Regions from separate parts of the Homo sapiens genome. Here regions 1 and 3 are each linked to region 2. Evidence: promoter capture Hi-C in 16 types of primary human blood cells and fetal thymus (Javierre and others, 2016). All regions are on one chromosome and are shown on one strand. Each heading gives the region's core, a stretch centred on a gene start or on the middle of the fragment in contact. The rest is flanking DNA. Distances are from core to core; before and after follow the strand shown. Region 1 has its middle 180 kb from the start of LINC01790. Region 2 holds the start of DNAH7 (dynein axonemal heavy chain 7). Region 3 has its middle 180 kb from the start of LINC01821.

Region 1 (2,868 bases), core at 194-2,693, 1.5 Mb after region 2:
AAATATACTGGCACCTCAGAGCCTTTGCTTTGTACATAGCTCTGCCAGTGAGGCATTTCCTTCAAATGTACACATAGTTTACTCATTTTCAGAGAAGGATTCCTTCACCATTTATTTAGACTATCACTTCTCACTCCATAAAATTCCCTCCTGTATCCATATGTAATTTTTCTGCATAGAACTCAAAAACTTATTCTTCTAGTATCTTCCTCCCTTCTGTATAATGTAAGCTTCATGTAAGGTGATAGCACCATCTCCTGTGGTTTGCCTGTCTAACTCTCTTAGTAAATAAGAACTCTCTTTAAACCTCCTCAATGCCAGAACTCTGACTATGACACGGCACCTTTGAAGACTTTTAGTCAACTAAGTATCTGATAATGTGTCAGTATTCACATGAGCCTTCTTAATTGAAATTATTTAATTCTATTTATTAAGTGGAAACTACATAATGGACCAAAACTGGTCCATCAGAGTCATTTTTTCCTCAAATTAAAGCGGAGAGTGTTAAAGGCTCGGAATTGGGACTGGAGTCTTGGCAAAGAGAAAGCTCTTGAGACAGTGTTTTTCATCTAGATACTGAGTTACCCACCATTACACTTATTCACCTACTCATTAATTAATTCCACAAATATCAGTTAAACACTAATAGTTTGCCAGGAGTTGTATTGTATACTCTTGATACCATGATGAAAATAAGACATGATTCTTCCTGTCAAGGAAGTGATGACTTATTAAGGATTATTAAGTTATAAAAAGAAAGCAAATATAAATGATGGCTTTAGTGCATGATAAGAGAATTAGACTGAAGTAAAGGGGAGCTTTGAGAGTAGAGCAAGGGGTCAGACAGAGTTCTGTAGTCTAAATCAACATTAAAGTGTGAGAAGGAGTGAGCCACATAATTGGCAAGAGGGAATATGAGGGATGGGTTATTCAGGACAGGAAATACAACGACATAGAAAAACTGAGAACGGTTCAATCTCTAGTTTTGGAATAAAGAGCCATTAAAATTTTATACAAGGAAATGACAATAGATTTGCACTTAGGAAAATAACTCAAGTAGCAAGAGAAGAAACAGTATTAAATGACAGGAAAACTGAACTGACAGAAAAAGACAAGTTAGGAGGCTTTTGTGTGCATTCAGGGAAGAAAGAGGTTGACATGTACTAGATATCAATGGTGTCATTGAATGTTTGTGACAGGCTGAACTTAAAGATATGATGAAGGATAAAGAAAAACAGAGTATCAAGGACAACACCCAGGAATTTTAGTGTGTTCATTCAGGGGAGAATGGTGTTGCTCACCTTACTGACATACAGAAGGAAGATAATCATGTTTGTTTTGTCTGAGGCCTGGGGAGAGAACAGTTTATTTATTGGGTTTAGACAAACTGTAGCATTATATCTGAATCCTGCCTTTAGAAATCTAGAAAGCAAGCAAAGGGCTGACTGGTTTGGCAGCCAGAAGAGTGCAGAAGCACCTGCACCATATCTTAGAGACGGTAGGGTCAGGATGTAGTGAGTGTTGCCACAAAAGAAAGTGTAGATCACTCAGGAGAAAGAATCACAGTGGGGTAGTCTTGGGTCATCCAATTGAAAGGCCTGGACTTTGAGGTCAGAGACAGTGGGCACTTGGGGAGCTCCAGGACAGAGAATATACATTCCACCAAAGAACCTTTCTGATAGAGTATGCATTCTGCTGGTGAGATACAGATAGAGAGCAGGATTACCCCATCACATCATTTTCCAGTTGGAAAACAGCCTGGAGTAGGTGTGGGCTTCCAATCTGAAGTGGCCTGAACAAGGGAAAGGGGAAAAAATAACATTAATTTAATTTTTATTTTGAATAACATTTTGTATGATGTCCAGTTATTGAAATGAGACGTTGATTGTTACATAACAAAACTGGAGGACTGTTTCTTACCTCAGAATTAACAGAGTAGAGCTATTGGAATTTCAGCAAATAAAAGAAATTATTCTAACTGGATAAAGTCAAAAGAAAGAGGGAGAGCGACTCGAATCAAGTTTTGATCTACAATAGGACATTTCCACATATTATTTCTTCTGCCAGGAATGTTCTTTCCTTTGTCACTTGCATGGTTGGCTTTTTGAGAATTCAGTATCAGTTAAGAACATGGGCCACTGAAAATGTCTTTTCCAGCTGGATGCGGTGGATCACACCTGTAATCCCAGCTCTTTCTGAGGCCTAGGCAGGTGGATCACTTGAGGTCAGGGTTTGAGACCAGCCTGGCAAACATGGCAAAACCACGTCTCTACTGAAAATGTAGAAATTAGCCTGGCGTGGTATCATGTGCCTGTAATCCTAGCTACTAGGGAGGCTGAGGCAGGAGAATTGCTTGAACCCAAGGGGCGGAGGTTGCAGTAAGCCGAGATCATGCCACTGCACTCCAGCCTGGGTGACAGAGTGAGATTGAGTCTCAAAAAAAAAAAAAAAAAAAAAAAAGCCTTTTTCTAGCTTCTGCCAAAAATATTGATAGATATATATTGATAGATGAAGAAAAAGGAAAAAGATGGCTTGGAAGAGAGAGAGAGAGCGACCAATCCACTTAGTGTTTTATTTATTTTCATATGGTATGTCACATTTTGTAAGTACATGTTTGTTTGTGTTGTGTAACTACTCCACTAGGCGGTAAGCTTCATGAAGGCACGAACTTTGTCCTTTCCGCATATATTGTTCACCTTGCACCAAGCTCAGTACACATGGTCACTCATTTGATATTTTCAGAATAAAAGAATTAATATTCTGGGATGTGCAATGAATTACTAGAATATTGACTTTCTCGGCCGGGCGCGGTGGCTCACGCCTGTAATCCCAGCACTTTGGGAGGCCGAGACGGGCGGATCACGAGGT
Region 2 (2,938 bases), core at 242-2,741:
ATCTCCTGACCTCGTGATCTGCCTGCCTCGGCCTCCCAAAGTGCTGGGATTACAAGCGTAAGCCAACACACCCGGCCTGTGTGGATTGTCTTTTTACTGATGAGAGTATTCTTTGATGCACAAAGGTTTTTTATTCTGATGCAGCCGAATTGTCTATTTTTTCCTTGTCGTTTTGGTGTCATGTCCAAGAAATCACTGCCAAATCCAATGTCGTGAAGCGATTCTTCTAAGTTTTCTTCTAAGAGTTTTATAGTTTAAGACCTTACAGTTACATCTTTGATCAATTTTGAGATAATTTTGTATATGATGTTTTTAGGTAAAGGTCCAACTGCATTTTTTTCCGCATATGGACATTTAGTTTCCCCAGCATCATTTGTTGAAAATAAATTGTTAAGGTCACTATAGTCTTGTAGTAAGTTCTGAAATCAAGAAGTGTGAGTACTCCAACTTTGTTCTTTAATTTCAAGATTGTTTTGGCTATTTATGACCCCTTGGGGTTCCTTGTTAATTTCAGGATGGAATTCTGCCATTTCTTAGCATAAAACTTTTCAGTGGAGGTCAGTTGCTTTTGACATCCAAACTCCTGCCCTTTTATAGGGTCCTTTAAGATATATCACCTGCTTATCACCTCAGCTTCTTCTCTAGACTGGCTCCAATCCCCTTTATCCAAACCTACTCATCGACCTCTCAGAACCATTTTCACTGCTTCCAATAGCTATGCTCTCTTGTCTCAGGCCTTTGTATGTGACCTGCTTTTTGCCCGGCATTCTTTGCCTGGCATTTCTTCTTCCTTCACATTTCAGCTTCCACATCCCTTCCATGCCCTCCATGAGAAAATTAGTTGGTGCTTTATGTTCTCACTGAGGACTGCCATTCTTAGCACCGTCTCCACTACACGGTAAGTGCTTGGCTTGGACACCCCCCAGCCTGTGGCGAATGGATGTCTTGGTCACATTTGTGCTTAGCACACCACTTTTCATGTAGTAAACCATCTGTGAATGTTGGTTTCAAGAATTGTTGGAAGGTTCCTTTACTGGTATTCTTCCAAAGGATAGTTTTCTGGAGTGTGGGAAGAGTCAACAGCACAGGGGTTGGAAGCACATGAATAATGAAAGGTGTTTACTGGATCCTGCCTCGCATTACTCCACTCGCCCACATTAGCAATGAAATCTGTAATCATTTCATTCCAGTGTTTCTCCGAGACCTCTGAGGGGTTAAGGCAGCAGTCCTGGGCATCCGGCTTATTTAGAAGGAGGGTGCGGAAGTGTGAGGATCTACTTCAGTAATCAGAGGATATTGGAGGAGACCCACCCAGTGTCTTTGGTTATTCAACGCACACCTTAGACCTCACAACACTGGCAGCAGCGCCCCAGAAAGCTCCTCTTGCGGGACCGCGCGCCAGCTTCCGGGTCCAGCCCCAGAAGGAACAGATGACCGGAAATGGAACCTGCGCGGGCCCGTTGCTTAGCAACAAACGCTGCCCGGACGCTAGACGGCTCTGGTGCGGAGGGAGCTGAGACCGCTGCAAGTCCCGGGGCCCTGCCTCTATCGTCCTAGGGGTTCCGCGGGCAGGAGCAACCCAGAAGCACCGGTGAGGCCAGCGCGTCCTCGCAGCCATGAGCAGTGAGCAGGTGAGAGGGCTGCTCTTTGCCAGGCTCGCCGCCGCCGCGACGCTTCCCAGGCGTTTCGGAAGTGGTGGAAGCCCCTCCTGCCTAGCGAACTCCCCAGCTGTGACTCCGCGGTGTACAGCTTCCTTCACCCCACTTGTGGCCTGGGTTACTGAGCGCTTTCCGTGAATGCCCTTATAAGTTCCCTTCCCAGCTGTTTGCCCTTGGTCGTCATAACAACCAAACCTAGCCGCCTAGCGGCGCGCCAGCAGGGGGAGCCACAGCCCAGAGCACCCCCAGAGTGCTAATGGCGGTGTGCTTGGGTGAGAGGCGGCTCTGCGAGGAGTTGCAGCGGGTTTGGGTTCTAAGGTGGGAATCGAAGCCAACTCCTAGCCATGTGACTTTGGACAAATCTCTTAGTCTTTGTAAGCCTTAGTTCTCCCACCTCTTATGCAGAGCGGGGGAAACATCAGAACAACTTTTCTTCTTTTTGAGGTTGTTGTCAATTTCAAATTAGATACCATGCCATACCATAACTATACAATATTATACTATACATGAAAGGCCTTGGTAAGTGACATATGGCACTTCTTAAGATGATATTCCATGGTATGTGATAAAAGATGCACTTTGCAATAGCTGCTTTTCTTTCTCTTTTTTTCTCGTTTTTTTCCTTTCTGTCTTTCTCTCCTTTTTCTTCTAAGAATTCTTTCTTTATTGAACTTAAGAGCAACTAACAGAAAGGCAGAACAATGGTCAGTCGTCTTAATATCAGCACAGAATGGGAAGATATTAAACGTGGTCATTATTCTGGCTAGCTAGAAAATAACTCTAGCTTTCTACGTAGTGATGAATAAGGAAAAGGACTCTATAAACCTCCTGGAAGAAAAACAGTTGTTTTTAAGCCTGCAAATTTCATTTAGCTTTTAAACAATATTAAACGGTAATTATTTCTTTTTTATTGCTTTATAATGCTTTTTTCGGTAGTGTTAGAATTTATTGTGGAAACAGTATTAAAACGGATTTAGTCTCCTATCCATTGAGTTGTACATTACTAACAGAACTATGTGAAGATCCTGATTGGTTAGTTCATCAAATAAGTAATTAATACCTGAAATGCTCAAGAAAATTTGGTTTGAACCTTTTTAAAAAAATAAGTATAATTTAAGAACTAAGAAATGGACACTGATTCATATGCTAAAGTATAATTAGTATTGGTATTAATAATAAAAGAGTAAATGACAAGCAAAAAACAAAAAGTTCAGATACAAGTAACCAAAAACACTGAGCAATTGTTTAATAGATCTTACTAGTTTTTTTCTACATGATAT
Region 3 (3,083 bases), core at 119-2,618, 1.9 Mb after region 2:
AATGATGACAGATAGATCTATATTTGGAGGAGAGGATTCTGGTCTTCTGTAGGAGGTCATTATTCAATTATCAAAATAAGGATTATGTGAGTGTCAAAGTAAATTTTCACAGAATGAGCTAAACAGGCAATAAAAACTTTACTCAAGAAAATTGTGTTAGGGGAGAGATACTGAACACAACTCTGCTGGAACAAAGGGTGGGTGATTTTAACAGTGAGGTGAACTAATGAAAAACGAATGAGGGCAGGCTGGTCAGTGTGATCAGGCCATATATGTTTGCTAATCATTGCTTATTAAAGTGATGCTCCTCCAATCTGACAGAGACTGAAATAAAGTAACACTATCTTTCTTGATGATTATATTTCAAAAGAGTGGCTCCTAAGTTTCTAAGAAAGACATTCCTGGGTTGTAAAACTAGTAAGAGACTTGGAGAAGATTTATATCTGAAAGCTGCAGAGAAAGAATTCACAATTTCAAGTTTACTAAAGTAAATAAGAAAATGGAGATTGAAGTCTAAATTTGGAAAGGAACCTGTTTAAAGTTTAGTTAGCTGAGGCGAACCTTAAAGCCCTCTTTGGTTAGAGCTTATGAAAACTTGATAAAACCAAAAATTGAAAAACAACCATTAATTGAAAAGTGTAGATAGTTAAAATAAGAACTAAAATATTTAAAAAGTAGTTCATTTTGCAGTGGGTGATGGAGCGTGATATATATGTGTGTGTGTATATATATATATATATATATACTGAGTATATATATATATACTCAGTATATATACATATATACTGAGTATATATATTCTCAGAATATATTCTGAGAATATATATATATATTCTGAGTATATATATATATTCTGAGTATATATATATATATTCTGAGTATATATATATATATATATATGTATATATTCTCAGACACAGTGTTGACAGAAAAAGCATTAATAATGAAATTGAAGATAACCTGTTTGTATGACCTAGTGAAAAGAATTTTTACCCAAACCAAAAACTAGGTGAACTCCACTAAGCTTTAATTATAAAATGGCTTTTTAAAAAAACTGTCAAAGTATATACAAATTAAAATAAATATATTTTAAAAAATATTTTAGGAACAAAACAATCTACTCATTGAATACCAAATTTATACAATGGCAGAAGTGGCTAAGCTGTCATTAAGAAGTGTCATTAAGTAAATAATATAAAATCTTCAGTATTTTAATAGAAAGATCAAGAAAACTAATATAGGCTAACATCAAACATATTTGAATGTAAATATATCTCCTATCTTCTCAACACAATGAATTTCTAGTAACTATTGTCTAAGGATAATCACCCTCAAGAGAATTGAGCCTACACTTGTTATTTATTTCTTCTGAAAATCACAATAATTGAATAATCTAGAAAATATATGGAAATGGAAGTATATTTATGTCACAGCACAGCCTGAGGTGCTATGTTAATAGCAAATATTCCCTGTACCTGGTGAGATTATATAAGGTGTAAAGAGCCTATGAATAATAGTAAGAAAACACCTAGGACTTCTGAATCAAAGGCCTGCATTATAGTCGACATTGAAATAGCTTTACCTGAATAATTATTCTGCATCTCTCTTGATAATGATAATAAAAACTAGCAACTGTTGTGCAATGCATTATTTTAATCCTTAGCAAATAGTATTTAAAACTGTTTAAATGCTGTGGAGAATACAAAGCTTAAAACAAAGTCCCTAACCTTTGAATATTTTTTAAATGAAGAGATAAGACATACAATCATTAAAAAATAATATAACATGGAATGGGTGATTGCATGTCAAAAATTTTCTAGTTTTTAAAATTCCACAAAACCTGATGAAGAAGGTCAACTTCTATCTTATCTTTGTAAATTTATCTAACACAGCAGAAAATAATAAATACGTTTTCTGATCTCAATGTGTGTGTGTTATATATATATATGTGTGTGCATATATATATATGCACACATGTTCCTTTATAATGCACCAAACCATTGTGACCTAAAATTAGAAGATGATTATTGAGCTCTTGTAAAATGTAAATTAAAATTTCCAGATAAGTTAACACACATATACACACATATATGAACAGGCATATGTATGTGCATATATATGAATACATCACATATTTTATATATATATATGTGACATTTGTGTGATTTATTTCTCTACCAATTAGATCAATACATTCTTTTTTAATTGTATTTTTGCTGCTAGTTTACATTTAAAATCATGTGCACGTTATTTTCACAATTTTTAAAAATAATTGTTATTGTGGTAAAATATATGTCTTAGCCAACTCAGGCTGCCATAACAAAATACCATAGACTGAGTAAGTTAAACAACTGTCCTATATTTTTCACAGTTTTGGAGCCTGGAAAATCCAAGATCAAGGTGCCAGTATGGTTGGTTTCAATAAGGGCTCTCTTCCTGGCTTGCAGATGGCCACCTTCTGGCTATGTACTCACATTGCACTTCCTTGGTATATATGAACAGTGAGAGAAGAAACTCTAGTATACCTTTCTCTTTTTCTAAATTGATCATTGTCATTGTACTTATTTATTCGGTATAATTTGATGTTTGGATACACACATATATATAATATTATATATATATATATATATATATATATATATATATATATATAAAATTATCCAATAAGGGTGGTTAGTAACCCATCACCTCATACATTTATCATTTCTTTCTGGGGATATTCTTTTAACTATTTGTAATAATCACTGCTTTACTGTTAGCTATAGTCATCCTAGATAAATACATTTTTAAAATTAATGTATGGCTTAACGTATGTTTCTTTGGAAATTTTAATTTATGTTTTACACTGTAAGAGCTCAATAATTGTCTTCTAATTTTAGGTCATAATGGTTCAGTGGATTATGAAGGAACATGGTGAATTTAGGCAGCTGCCAAAGGGAGTCAGTTGTTTATATGCCAATGTGTCCTACCTACTAATTTTTCTTTTGCAGAATTCACTGTGGTCTATGTGTGGTCCACAGGTTTTTAGGTCAAGAAACTTAAAATGTACTAAGTAGATAAAGTGTGTTTCTGTGTATGTGTGT

Evidence for each region. Contacts are between HindIII fragments. The CHiCAGO score rates a contact against its expected background, and 5 or more counts as called.
Region 1: a contact is called between a fragment that was not itself captured here and the fragment with the promoter of DNAH7 in region 2, in 1 of 17 cell types (total CD4 T cells). The highest score is 5.9, in total CD4 T cells.
Region 3: a fragment that was not itself captured here is called in contact with the fragment with the promoter of DNAH7 in region 2 in 1 of 17 cell types (M2 macrophages); the score reaches 15.3 in M2 macrophages.

The regions. Positions count from the first base shown.
Region 1 is chr2:194,547,832-194,550,699 of GRCh38, reverse strand. No RefSeq gene overlaps it. Among named protein-coding and RNA genes, the nearest start is that of LINC01790, 180 kb to the left of the region's middle. The HindIII fragment of the contact is 2,421 bases long and covers 233-2,653 here.
Region 2 is chr2:196,067,390-196,070,327 of GRCh38, reverse strand. It overlaps DNAH7 (dynein axonemal heavy chain 7), which reads left to right and starts at 1,491. Exons shown (of 65, transcript NM_018897.3): 1 at 1,491-1,631. The coding sequence starts at 1,617. RefSeq lists enhancers at 1,580-1,669, 2,150-2,199. The HindIII fragment of the contact is 14,129 bases long and covers 1-2,938 here.
Region 3 is chr2:194,166,354-194,169,436 of GRCh38, reverse strand. No RefSeq gene overlaps it. Among named protein-coding and RNA genes, the nearest start is that of LINC01821, 180 kb to the left of the region's middle. The HindIII fragment of the contact is 683 bases long and covers 1,027-1,709 here.